Linked DNA regions of Homo sapiens: region 2 is linked to region 1. The links are contacts of gene promoters, found by promoter capture Hi-C in blood cells and fetal thymus (Javierre and others, 2016). All regions are on one chromosome and are shown on one strand. The core of a region is centred on a gene start or on the middle of the fragment in contact, and the rest is flanking DNA. Distances in the headings are between cores, read along the strand shown.

Evidence for each region. The method cuts DNA at HindIII sites, captures the fragments that hold promoters and counts their contacts. A CHiCAGO score of 5 or more calls a contact.
Region 2: a fragment that was not itself captured here is called in contact with the fragment with the promoter of SAMD8 in region 1 in 8 of 17 cell types (M0 macrophages, total B cells, megakaryocytes and 5 more); the score reaches 8.2 in M0 macrophages.

Annotation. Positions count from the first base shown.
Region 1 is chr10:75,110,380-75,117,436 of GRCh38, reverse strand. SAMD8 (sterile alpha motif domain containing 8) reads right to left here and starts at 5,781. Exons shown (of 6, transcript NM_001174156.2): 1 at 5,715-5,781. RefSeq lists enhancers at 5,073-6,021, 6,022-6,971 and a silencer at 5,695-6,034. The HindIII fragment of the contact is 16,308 bases long and covers 2,981-7,057 here.
Region 2 is chr10:74,736,194-74,742,650 of GRCh38, reverse strand. No RefSeq gene overlaps it. Among named protein-coding and RNA genes, the nearest start is that of KAT6B, 87 kb to the left of the region's middle. RefSeq lists an enhancer at 3,241-3,330. The HindIII fragment of the contact is 212 bases long and covers 4,374-4,585 here.

The DNA of each region.
Region 1 (7,057 bases), core at 4,532-7,031:
ACCCTTTTTTTTTTTTAAGATAGGGCCTCACTCTTTACCCAGGCTGGAGTGCAGTGGCGCAATCACAGCTTACTGCAGCTTTGACCTCCTGGGCTCAGGTGATCCTCCCACCTCAGCCTCCTGAGTTCTGGGACTATAGGTGCACACCACCACACCCGGCTAATTTTTGTATTTTTAGTAGAGACGAGGTCTCACTATGTTGCTCAGGCTGGTCTCAAACTCCTGGGCTCAAGGGATCCACCCACCTCAGCTTCCCAAAGTGCTGGGATTACATGCATGAGTCACCCCACCCAGCTGGTAAAATCTTTATTTTTAAATATGCTACACTGGCAGGCTGCGGTGGTTCACGCCTGTAAACCCAACTTTGGGAGGCCAAGGGGGGTGGATGCCTTGAGCCGAGGAGTTCAAAACCAGCCTGAGCAACATAGTGAGACCTCGTCTCTACTAAAAACACAAAAAATTAGCCGAGCATGGTGGCACGCGCCTGTAATCCCAGCTACTGGGGAGGCTGAGGTGGGAGAATTGCTTGAACCCGGGAGGCGAAGGTTGCTATGAACTGACATCACGCCACTGCACCAGGCTTCGGCAACGAAGTGAGACTCTGTCTCTAAATAAATAAATAAATATGCTACATCCAAAATCTAATCAATATAATGGAAAATGAGAAACTGGCTCAAGACTTCAAACTCCATTAAATATTGTGAAAATGGATTGGATTTGCAGCCAAATTTTAATGTATGGTTTTGGAAATCTCTGGCTTTCATGCTAATATTATATTGATGGAACTGACATCAATTCCATTTAATCTCAAAGTTCCAAACTAAAACAGATTTGCAAGTATTTCCAAAAACTCAGTGACACCAGTTAACCTATAGGAAGGCCCTAAATTAGCAGAATCCATGGTTCTCACCTCCAACTAGAATTTATCTGTCAAAAATTTCAAGACAACAGAACAAGTATCAAGATAACAGATACTCATGTTACTACCTCTTGTCCTCTGCCACAACTCATAAGCTTAACTAAATGCACTTCAAAAATTTAAGACACTCACACCTGTAATCCTAGCACTTTGGGAGGCTGAGGTGGGAGGACTGCTCGAGGCCAGGAGCTCTAAACCAGCCTGGTCAACATAGCTGATACCCCATCTCTACAAAAGAAAAATTTAAAAAAATTAGCCAGGTGTGGTGGCACACGCCTATAGTCCCAGCTACTCAGAAAGCTGAGGCAGGAGGACTGCTTGAGCCCAGGAGTTCAAGGCTGCATAAGCCATGATCGCGCCACTGTATTCCAGCCTGGGAGACAGTGAGACCCTATCTTTAAAAAAAAAAAACTACCAAAAAATACTTAGACAAATATAAATATAATTCACTGCCCTGCCCCACAACACTCTTTTCTGAGGTACATATCATAAAACATTGTTTTATGGTGAAACACTGTGGTGAAACTATTATAACCAAGTTTTTCTTAGTTAATAGTCTTTTTTTTTTTTTTTTTTTGAGACGGAGTCTCGCTCTGTTGCCCAGGCTGGAGTGCAGTGGTGTGATCTCCGCTCACTGCAAGCTCCGCCTCTCGGGTTCATGCCATTCTCCTGCCTCAGCCTCCTGAGTAGCTGGGACTACAGGCGCCTGCCACGAGGCCCGGCTAATTTTTTTGTATTTTTAGTAGAGACGGGGTTTCACCGTGTTCGCCAGGATGGTCTCGATCTCCTGGCCTCGTGATCCGCCCGCCTCGGCCTCCCAAAGTGCTGAGATTACAGGCGTGAGCCACCGTGCCCGCAGTATGTTACATTCTATAGTATTGTGAGGACCCAATAACAGAACATTTCAATACGGAAACATGAAGTCACTGAACTCAGCTAAAGGTTAGGCTTCAGATCTGTGATGATGGTACTGTGTGTATGGGAGGAGGGGGTTCAGGAATATTCACATCACAGGTCTGTTACAAATCCATACCCACACATTCATATGGCAAATTACCAGGAAGCAACAGCGGTAGCATGTAAACACCAATCTGTTTTCCCAGTGTGCCTGGCCCATGCTCTCCTATTTTTAGTTAACATCTTGATTTCTCAAGGCCAAGAAAACCACAAGACCTAAAGTAAGCATCACTGTCCTGATGATATCTGTTGTCAAATGGCTTTCTCTGTTCTTGCCCTACTATTAACCCCTCAATGTGTTACATCATACCCTTAGAGCAAAACAAAAACAAGAACAAAAACTGGTTCCAAAAGAATTCCCAAAATCACATGTAAGCAAGTATTAAAGATACGGCATTTTGCAAATAAGTAACTCTTTATTTGTAAACAAATATAAATACATGAGACGTGAAAATAATCAAGGCTCTCCCCTGTCATCTCTGCAAATAAGTAAAACATTTAATCTAATCTGGGAATGAAATAGTATAGTCCTCCTCTATAACCTAAATCCCTTAAAAGAATTTTGATTAGCTCATACTGTATTTTTTCACCAAATACCACAATCATTCAAAAGAGCTTCATAGGTAATTTAGCAGAATATGCAATTGTATTCATATCTCGTATAAATCAGTTTGATGTCCAAAGAGAATCAAAGCTACAGAAGCTTTAAAATTAAAAAGTGAATTCAATCTTAGTTCATTAACAATCCACTGGCATATGAAAAATGAAGGGGGTAGAATCTGAAGACAGGAAAGATTTCCATCCATAAATTAACGGGCATGCTAGGTACACCCAACAATTAACACCATATATTACATCAGGCCTGGAAGTAAAAATCTTGAAAGAATAGCTTGTTAACATGGCATTCTTATAAAACAATAATAATACTATTCATGGAAACATCTGTGATTTAAGTTTCTCAAAAAAAGTGTTCAAATTTCAATTCTTAGAAAAGCCATGAAAATGTCTTAATCAGTAACAGCAAAGTTTTGAAGAAGTATTGAGGATCTAATGATTAACAAAATAAAAAAATGTTTATAAGCAACTGTGCAATGTGAATAAGCTTTTGCAGAAGGGGGGTTATGGTACTGAAATCAAAACTGATTTACCTAAATATGTCTGCATATTCTGCCATCGCAGTCATGATGGCTTCTTCTGCCTTAGAGAAACCGATTTTTTTTTTTTTTTTGAGACATATCACTCTGTTGCCCAGGCTGGAGTGCAGTGGTGTGATCTCAGCTCACAACCTCTGCTTCCCGGGTTCAAGAGATTCTCCTGCCTCAGCCTCCTGAGTAGCTGGGATTACAGGTGTGAGCCACCACACCTGATTAATTCTTTTTATAGTATTAGTAGAGATGGGGTTTTGCCATGTTGGCCAAGCTGGTCTTGAACTCCTGACCTCAAGTGATCTGCCTGCTTCGGCCTCCTAAAGTGGTGGGATTACAGGAGTAAGCCACCACACCTAGCCAAAAACTGATTTTCTTTATTCAATGGGTGTGAGAACTGACAAAGGGAAACAAAAATTAAAAAACTATTAGACATGCTAATATGTTAATTGTACAACTCCATCTAACAGTTTCTCTTTAATTTTGCAATAACATTAAGCTGTAATCTTAATAGAGTTCTTATATTGCAGTTCAGCAAATTTTTACATGCCATGACTTTTATTCACAACTAAGTATGAAGATAAGGTCTCCAGAGGATCTCACTCTAAAGATAAAACCAACAAACAGTAATATTACATAAACTTCAACTGAAGATAATTTGTATTAAGTTAAAGAAAAGGGAATTAATACTTTAACAATCTCAGCATTTTTAGCTAAGAATTCACATATCCTTTGAAGAAACAATTACTATTCCACTGTGCATCTGAGGGTATGTCACATAGCCCATACACATAAACTAATTTAAAAGCTGTTGCAAATCAAATTATCATCTCATGAAGATTAAACAGTAGATATCCATTTAGATTTAATCAAGCATTTAGAAAACGCTTGATGCTAACAAAAATTAGCCAGCCATGGTGGCGCCCACCTGCAGTCCCAGCTACTCCCAGCTACTTGGGAGGCTGAGGTGGGAGGATCACTTAAGCCTGGGCAACACAGCGAATCTCTGTCTCAAAAAAAAAAAAGAAAGGAAAGAAAAGAAAAGAAGGAAGAGAAAAGAAATGGCCAACAACTTTACAAACCTATAATCACATAAAAAGTTGTAAAACATATGAGACATGTGGCTAAAGTCAAAGACTTCATGGAACCATGTTATGACTTAACAATCACAAAAGGAAGTCAATTTATCTCTACTAAAGTGAATATAAATATTGCAATCATTCTTTTTCTGGCATAATTATGTTTTGGAACTATGTCTTCTATAAAAAGCATCTGTATACCCACCTGTCCCAGTTGTGTTGGCTGCCAACTACAAGCATCCTCTGTCCTTATTTTTCCAAATCACTCTACTAAAAATACTATTCACACAATACCTGCAAAATAGTATTTCAATATTGGTTTTGCCAATCAGTCAAAGGTACCTCTCCAATTTTCAAGAGATAAGTCCAATCCTGGGGTTATCAGTGAGAGGAAGATTTGGTATTGCGCCTAGACTGTGGCAAGTTCACTGTGCCCCCTTCACCCAGAAACTTGCATTGACCATACATTTACTATGTGGCAAATACATGTGTCAACTTAAAACTTTGAAAGTGGAACCAGTCCATGTTGAGTATCTGTAAAATCCAAGTGTCCAAATTCTTGTTTCAAGTTTAATTTTTAAAATCTGAGTATCCAAAGTCTTGTTTCAAGTTTTTAAAACTTAAAGGTAATATAGTAAATTTTTAGGATCTTAACATGTCTGGTATTTAAACTTAGCTACGAAAAAATTACAATGAAAAAAAGGACACCATTACTGTCAATAAATCCAAATGATATCTTCATTTTCAGAATCACGTCTTCCACTACCTTCTTCAAACATCACTTCCTCTCCACTACTTCCCCCAGTCCTTTAGGCAAATCAGTGATTCACACCGCCCCTTCCACCCAAGATTCTTAAAATGATCCACTGTGCACGAACGAGAAAGCCCCACGATCCAAGTACATTGCCCTAGTGATCTTTGATGTTTTAAAAGGCACCTGTAAAAATGCCAAAGCCCAAAATTAGATCCCCAAGGGCTCCTTTTCTTTCTTGACCACACTTCTCTTTTTCAGTGCCTCCCTCACCCCTTGAGGCCAGACGATTTCCCATCCAACAGCCCTCCTCCTTCTAGTCAAACCTAAATCCTGCCCTCCATCACCACCAGCCCCACCCGGGGTGGGAGGCGGATAAGAGGGCTCCGTAAGAGGAGAACCCCATGAGAGGGCTCCAGTCCCAGCCCCGATCGCCCTCCCTCGCCCTGGGAAGGGAACACCGGCCCAGGTCTTGCTCCTCTGACTCCTCATCCCCGCTGCCAAACCCAGAGCATCTCTTCTTCCGGGTCCACATTCCCGCAGGACCTTCGATCTTTTTCCCCCACTGCGCAGCTTTCAAAAGCCCCCAAGCTCTGGGCTCTTCAAGCCTCCCCCTCTCGCTCTCTCCCTCTCGTTCCTCGGCCTCCACTTATCCCTCAGCCTTCAGGCCCTCAGTTCGACAACCTCCATTTGCTTCAGATTCCATTCCAGAGCTGACTATCCCGGTTCCCTCAACCGTCTCCCCGGGGCCCCTCCAGGTCGCGGTCCCTCGGCAGCCCCCGGCTCCATCCCAGACTCCCCACTCACCCTTGGCAGCAGGCGCCCCCCAAGCTCCCCTCTCCTCAGCCTCAGCTCCCGCTCACCTCCGCGGTCCGAGTCGGGCTCCCCGGACCCACCTCCGAGTCGGCGTCCGAGCCGCCGTCGGAGTCCGGGGCCCTCCCCGCCTCGCCGGAGTGAAGCGCCTCAAGCGGCGGGGGCGGAGCCCGGGGCGGGGAGCCGGAGTGGAGGCGGGGGCGGTGGCGACTGCGCGCAGGCATCGTCCCGGCCGCCGTCACCGCCGCGCCGGCAGCTGCTCGGAGCCGAACCGGAACTGCTTCGGGAGGCGGGGCCCTACCGGCCGGGGACGGGGTTCTACCGGCAGGGGGCGGGGCCCACACTGGAAAAGACGCGAGGCTCCAGATGGGCCCGAGAGGAGAACCGAGATGCTGCCGCGGAGGAGCCCGAGGGCGCATGCGTCATGCCGGAGGCCAAAGCGACAGGAGGAAGCGGGGCTAGCGGAGCCGGGGCGGGGCCTGTGGGATCAGTAAATGGGGTTAGGGCCTAGAAGGAGGTAATCCGAATTCCTCTGGAGAGAGCCAGCTCTTCTCCAATAGCCAGCCCCCAATGATCATTGTTATAATTTATTGCCCATTTACTCTTTGACAGTGTCTATGCCAAACGCCATATAAACATCTCATTTAATCCTTGTGCTAAGGCCGGGAGCGGAGGCTCACGTCTGTAATCCCAGCACTTTGGGAGGCTGAGGCGGGATCACCTGAGGTCAGGAGTTCGAGACCAGCCTGGCCAGCATGGGGAAACCTCGTCTGTACTAAAAATACAAAAATTAGCCGGGCGTGGTGGTGCATACCTGTAATCCCAGCTACTCGGGAGGCTGAGGCAGGAGAATCGCTTGAACCCGGGAAATGGAGGTTGCAATGAGCCGAGATCACGCCATGGCACTCCAGCCTGGGCGACAAGAGCAAACTCCATCTCAAAAAAAAAATCCTAGTGCTAATTCTGCAAGGGGGATCCTATAGCACAGAAAAGTAAAGAAACATACTGCCTGACATATTGCAAACTGATATTCCAACCCAAATCTCTCTAACATCAGATCCTGTATTTTCCTCACTCCACCATGCTGCACCACCCTGAGGGAAGGTCTCCTCCCAAGCCAGGTCTAGCATTGGCATAAACCAAGTCCAAACCCAGCTGTAACCTGGACACGAGCCCCTCCTTGGTCTTGCCTCCCCACACAGTGCCGGGCCGACTTCAATGGTTCTGAATGGGATAGACATGAGTGTAGACTGCTTCCATGGGATGCCCTGGTGTGGCCTTTCCCTTCAAACTGGTCTTAAGGCCAAGGGCAGCTGGGAACCTCCCCACTGCAGCTCATACCCTTCCCAGCTCCATTAGGGCCACTGAGAAGTCACATGAGAGAGGGTGAGAC
Region 2 (6,457 bases), core at 3,230-5,729, 370 kb after region 1:
GTCTCAGAAAAAAAAAAAAAAAAAAGAAACATTTCTTTTTTATTCATATTCTTCTTTTGTGAATTGCCTTTTTTCCATTTTCCAAATGGAATGTATGCCTTTTTCCTTCTGCTTTGCAAGGGTGTTTTCTAAATTAAGGATATTAGGCCAGGCGTGGTGGCTCACACCTATAATCCCACAATTTTGGGAGGCCAAGATAGGTGGATCACCGGAGGTCAGGAGTTCAAAACCAGCCTGGCCAACATGGGGAAACCCAGTCTCTACTAAAAATACAAAAATTAGCCAGGCGTGGTGGTGCATGCCTGTAATCCCGGCTACTCGGGAGGCCGAGGCAGGAGAATCGCTTGAACCTTGGAGGCAGAAGTTGCAGTGAGCCGAGATGGTGCCACTGCACTCCAGCCTGGGCGACAGGAACAAAACTCCGACTCAAAAAAATAAAAAATAAAATAAAATTAAGGCTATTAATATTTTGTCAATCTTTTACGCTGCCAACATCTTGTCCCTGTTTGTGGTTTGCCTTGTTATTTTTTAAAAAATCAAATTTAAGTTTTAAATTTTTATGTAGGCAAATCTATGCATCTCTTATATTTTTCTTTAGGTATTATGCTTTGAAAAATCTTTACCACTCAAGATTATAGAAACACTTTCTATATTTTCTCATTATTCTGTTTATAGTATTTAAAAAAATAACTGATCTATTTGGAACTTTACCTTGATGATTGGCATGCAGTGGGGACTCCAGCTTAATTTTCCCCAACAGAAACCAATATTCCAGCATGATTTGCTTGCATAATATTTCCCTTCTCTGATTTTAAATGCTAACTTTATCATATGCAAAATACTGGTGTATATGTGAGTCTGTTTCCAGGTTTTAAATTTTATTTTACTGATCTGTCTATTCTATGCCAAATCTGTTTTAATTACTGTGGTTTTATGACAGATTTTAATAATTATGCAAAATCCCCTCATATTTCTTTTCTTCTGCAACAATTTACTGACTCGTCTCTCCCAAAATCTCTTTGAGATTTTAATGGACACTGCATTTCATTTATTAATTAGTTTGAAAAGAACTGACATCTTTTATTATTGCCTTTTCTCACACAGGTATGTGACATGTTGCGCATTTATTTATCTTCTGTTATGTACCTTGGCAAACTTTTGCTCTATTCTTCATTCAGATCTTATATACATTTTTAAAAGTTTATTCTTGGGTGAAATATGTGTGTGTGCATATACACACATATACATGCGTGTGCATGCATGTATATGTGCATGTACATATGTATATACACACATATGCACACATGTATGTGCATATGCATATATACACATACATACACGTATGCATGCACACATGTGTATATACACATATGTATGCATATACACATGTATATGTATTTATGTATATATGCATACATATATACACATATACACATATATACATGTATACATAGATGTATATGTATGGAATATGTATGATGTGTGTATACATACATAACACACAAACACGTGTATATTTGCTATAATTTGTACTTGCATCAGATCTTTTTCTTCTTATTTTATTTTCGAACTGCTTATTAATAGTAATATTCAGTCACTCAACAAATACTTATATGCTACTGTGTGCCAGGCACTGTGCCAGACACAAGGACCATACTAGTGTACAAAACAGACACGGTCTATATATACTATTGATCATTTCTAAAATATTGATCATCCTTGCATTTCTGGAACAGGTTCTGCTTGGGTATGAAATATTATTTTAGTATATTGTACTAATGAATTAAATTTGCTAGTATTCCATTTAGGATGTGTGTTTATAAATTCCATATAAATAGCCTAAGTGAGACTAAGCTGTCTGGCTTGAGGTGTGTGTGTGTGTGTGTGTGTGTGTGTTTGCGCACGTGTGCATGTATCTGGTTTTGGTGGAAGGGTTATGTTAGCTTGTGAAGTAAACTGGAAACTTTCCGTTATTTCTCTATTTTATGTAGCATTGGAATTGTTTCATTCTTACTCCTTAACAATCACATTAAATTATAATGTTCAAACTAGAAGACTCGAACTGAGAAAAGGCCCCAGTTGTCCTACATCTCAAACCTTTGAAAGAATTTATGGAAATGGGATAGAATGGAGGTTTACACAACAAGACACCAGATGACAAGACATGACTTTCTTGTTTTGGTCCTGTCCCCTCAAAGGGGACCAGCGGCCTTGTATGTTCACTTCTTGAAAGGACTGACTTTTTTCCCAGGGAGGAAAAGTGTGCCCTCATCTTCCAGCTGTTTGATACTCCTGGCGAGTGCAGGACTGGACTGATGCTGCGAGGCAGGGGATAACGGATTGGCTTTGTACAAGGTAGGTAGAAAACTCCAGTGACAGCAAGCTGAGGGCAAAACACAGCACCATTACTGTTCCCGTCTCACAGAACCTGCAGATAGCCGACACAAATAAGAGCTCCATATCTCCCACTTGTCTTCAGCCTTTGTGTCTTTCTGAATTTCTATAACTATAGCTGAATCTGTCAGGCCAGTTCCATGTCCACGGCAGAGTGCAACATCAGGGCCAACATGTGAGCCCCAAAGTCCTGATTCTGTGATCTAATATAATACCTCCCATCATGTTTTTATTTATATCCCTAAATGTGTCTTCCAATTTTTTTTTTTTCAAGACCAGTTCTCACTCTGTCGCCCAGGCTGGAGTGCAGTGGTGCAATCTTGGCTCACTGCGACCTCTGCCTCTGGGGTTCAACCAATCCTCCTGCCTCAGCCCCCAGAGTAGCTGAGGTTACAGGTGTACACCACCACGCCTGGCTAATTTTTGTATTTTTTGCAGAGACGGGGTTTAGCCATGTTGGCCAGGCTGGTCTTGAACCTCTGGGCTCAAGTGATCTGTCTCCCTCAGCCTTCCAAAGTGCTGGAATTACAGATGTGAGCCACCGTGCCCAGCCCCAACTTTAAAATTTAAGAATCATTCCTCTTACTTATCTGAGAACCTTTTAAGTACATGGGGTCTCTACTTGCAAGCAGCTCATATATTAGTTTTCTATTGCTGTGTAACAGATTGCCACAAACTTAGTAGCTTAAAACAGCACCCATTTATTATCTCACAGTTCTACACGCACAAACGATTTTTATAAATAGAGACAGGTTGCCCAGGCTGGTTTCAAACTCCTGACCTCAAGTTACTCCCCCGCTTTGTCCTCCCAAAATGTGGGGGTTACAGACGTGAGCCACCGCGCCTGGCCTCTCACAGTTCTGTAGTCAGAAGTCTGGTGGGTGGGCTTGGCAAGGTACTGTCCTTAGGGTCTCTAAATGCTGAAATCAAGGTGGCAGCAGGGCTTTGTTACTTCCTGGAGGCTCTGGGAAGGAAACTGCTAACAAGCTTATTCAGGCTGTTGGTCAAATTCAGCTCCTTGTGGTGCTAGGGCTGAGGTCCCGTTTCCTTTCTGTTGGCCTTGAGCCTCTTGAGGTTTCCTGTGCGCCTGGTCACGTTGCCCCTTCACCTTCAAAGCCAGCAAAGGCTCACTAACTCCTTCTCAAGCGTTGAATCTCTCTGACTTCTGCCTTATCTCTCCTGCCTCCTGCAGGAGAAAGTTCTCTGCTTTTAAAGGCTCACATGATTAGACTGGGCTCACTGGATCACCCAGAATAATCTCTGTATTTTAAGAACTGTCACCTTAATTACATCTGCAATGGCCCTTTTGCATGTTACATAATGTACTTACAGGTTGCAGGGATTGGGACATGGATCTTTGTGGGACCATTATGCCTGTCAGAGCTTTTATCTCTTTGTTTTCCATATAGAATATTTTAGGATAATTTTTTTCCCTTTATGTTTTTATTTTATTTTTGAGACAGGATTTCCCTCTGTCACCCATCTGGAGTGCAGTGGTGCAATCACGGCTCACTGCAACCTCTTCCTTATCACGGCTCACTGCAACCTCTTCCTTCCAAGCTCAAGAGACCCTCCCACCTCAGCCTCCCAAGGAGCTAGGACTAATACAGGCACATGCCACCACGCCTGGCTAATTTTTGTATTTTTTGTAGAGATGGGGTCTCCCTATGTTGCCCAGGCTAGTCTTGAATTCCTGGGCTCAAGCAATCCTCCAGCCAAAGTGTTGGGATTACTGGCATGAGCCAACTTGCCTGGCCAATTTTTTCCATTTAAGAGGAAATAGAAGACAGCTCCATCCTTTTGGAAAAAATGAACTGCCAGACACCATCAGGCCCCAAATTCACACAGCCATCATGCATTCAGCCTCTAACCATAAGTCCTTGATTCTGGCCTCAAACTCAGTAAAATTCATTTGTGCATTTAAGACTTGAGGCAGCCAAATTTTGACACACCATTAGGTGGCACTTGATTAGAAAGCTTGCTTCTGTCTGAACTTTCTCAAGGCAGCAATCCGACAAGAGGGCAAGGAAACTCTGAGGTCAAGGGCAGAGTAGGGCTGAGGTTCTTAGTGATTATGGGGAAGTCCTCACAGGCAAAAACTGTCCAAGACTTGAAAGTAATTTGTACATTCAAGTTGACTTTAGAGAACTTAAATATTACTTAGCAACTGTAAATAGACTATTTAAAAGCTTTTACACATGATATTTTAAGAAAGCATGGCATCAGCTGGGCATGGTGGCTCACACCTGTAATCCCAGAACTTTGGGAGGCTGAGGCGGATCGATTGCCCGAGGTCAGGAGATCGAGACCAGCTTGGCCAACATGGTGAACCCCGTCTCTACTAAACATACAAAAAATTAGCTGGGCATGGTGGCAGGTGCGTGTAATCCCAGCTACTAGGGAGGCTGAGGCAGGACAATTGCTTGAACCCGGAAGGCAGAGGTTGCAGTTAGCTGAGATCTCTAGCCTGGGCAACAAGAGCGAAACTCCGTCTCAAAAAAAAAAAAAAAAAAAAAAGCATGGCATCAAAAAAATCACTGTGTGTGTGTGTGTGTGTGTGTGTGTGTGTGTGTGTGTGTGTGTGTATTTTTTTTTTTTTTTTTTTGAGACAGAGTCTTGATCTGTTGCCCAGTCTGGAGGGTACTGGTGCAATCACAGCTCACTGCAGCCTCAACCTCCTGGGCTCAGGTGATCCTCCCACTTCAGCCTCCTGAGTAGCTGGGACTACAGGCGCATGCCACCACATCTGGCTAATTTTTGTATTTTTTGTAGAGACAGTGTTTCACCATGTTGCCTGGGCTGGTCTTGAACTCCTGGGCTCAAGCAATTCACCTGTCTCGGCCTCCCACAGTGCTGTGATTACAGGTGTGAGCCACCATGCCTGGCCACCACATTTGTCCTATGTTTAAAATGAGCAAATATTCAGGCCGGACATGGTGGCTCATGCCTGTAATCCCAGCACTTTGGGAGGCTGAAGCGGGTGGATCATCTGAGGTCAGAAGTTCGAGACCAGCCTGACCAACATGGAGAAACCCCATCTCTACTAAAAATGCAAAAGTAGCCTGGTGTGGTGGCACATGCCTGTAATCCCAGCTACTCAGGAGACTGAGGCAGGAGAATTGCTTGAACCCAGGAGACGGAGGTTGCAGTGAGCCGAGATTGCACCATTTCACTCTAGCCTGGGTGACAGAGTGAGACTCCGTCTCAAAAAAAAAAAAGGCTATTATGGAGATTCATGCACGAGTTTATTTCTGAGTATGCACATATGTTTTTATTTCTTCTGAGCCGATATGGAAAGGTGGAATTTCTGGGTTAGATGGCAACTCCACATTTAGCTTTCTGAGGAACCGCTCAACTGTTTGCCAAAGTGGCTGCACCATTTTACATGATCAACACATACGTAATTTTAAAAATGGCTTCATTAACATGTGATTGACATACAATAAAATGCACATATATTAAGTGTATGATTTGGTAAGTTTTGGCTTATGAATACACTCATAAAACCATCACCACAATCACTTCAAAGTCATCTATCACTCCAAAAATTTTCCTTGTACCCCTCTGAAATTCATTCTTCCCATATCTCATGATACAATTGTGAGACCTGAATTTGAGTATTTGTTGTTACTGTTGTTGTTTTGCATAGGAAAACAATTGTACCAGCACCATTTGGATAGTCCTATGCAAAATGACAACAACAGCAAATACTTAAACTCAGGTCTCACAATCTGTATCATGTCTATCTCATATACAAAAAATTGTCTCCAAATGGACCATCTCTCCCCACTCCATCATTCCATTATTTCCAAGTAATCACTGTTCTTTCTGTCATTATGGTTTAGTATGCATTTTCTAAAGTTTTAAATAAATGCAATCCTATAGTATTTTTTTTGGTCTAGCTGTGTGTTTCCTCTTTGTCTGGCTTTTTCCACTGAGTGTAATTATTTTAAGATTCACCTAAGATGTTGACTGTCTCAATAATCCATTCCTTTTTATTGATGGGTAATATTCCATTGAATGTATATACCACAATTTGCTTACTCATTCCCCTGTTGGTGGA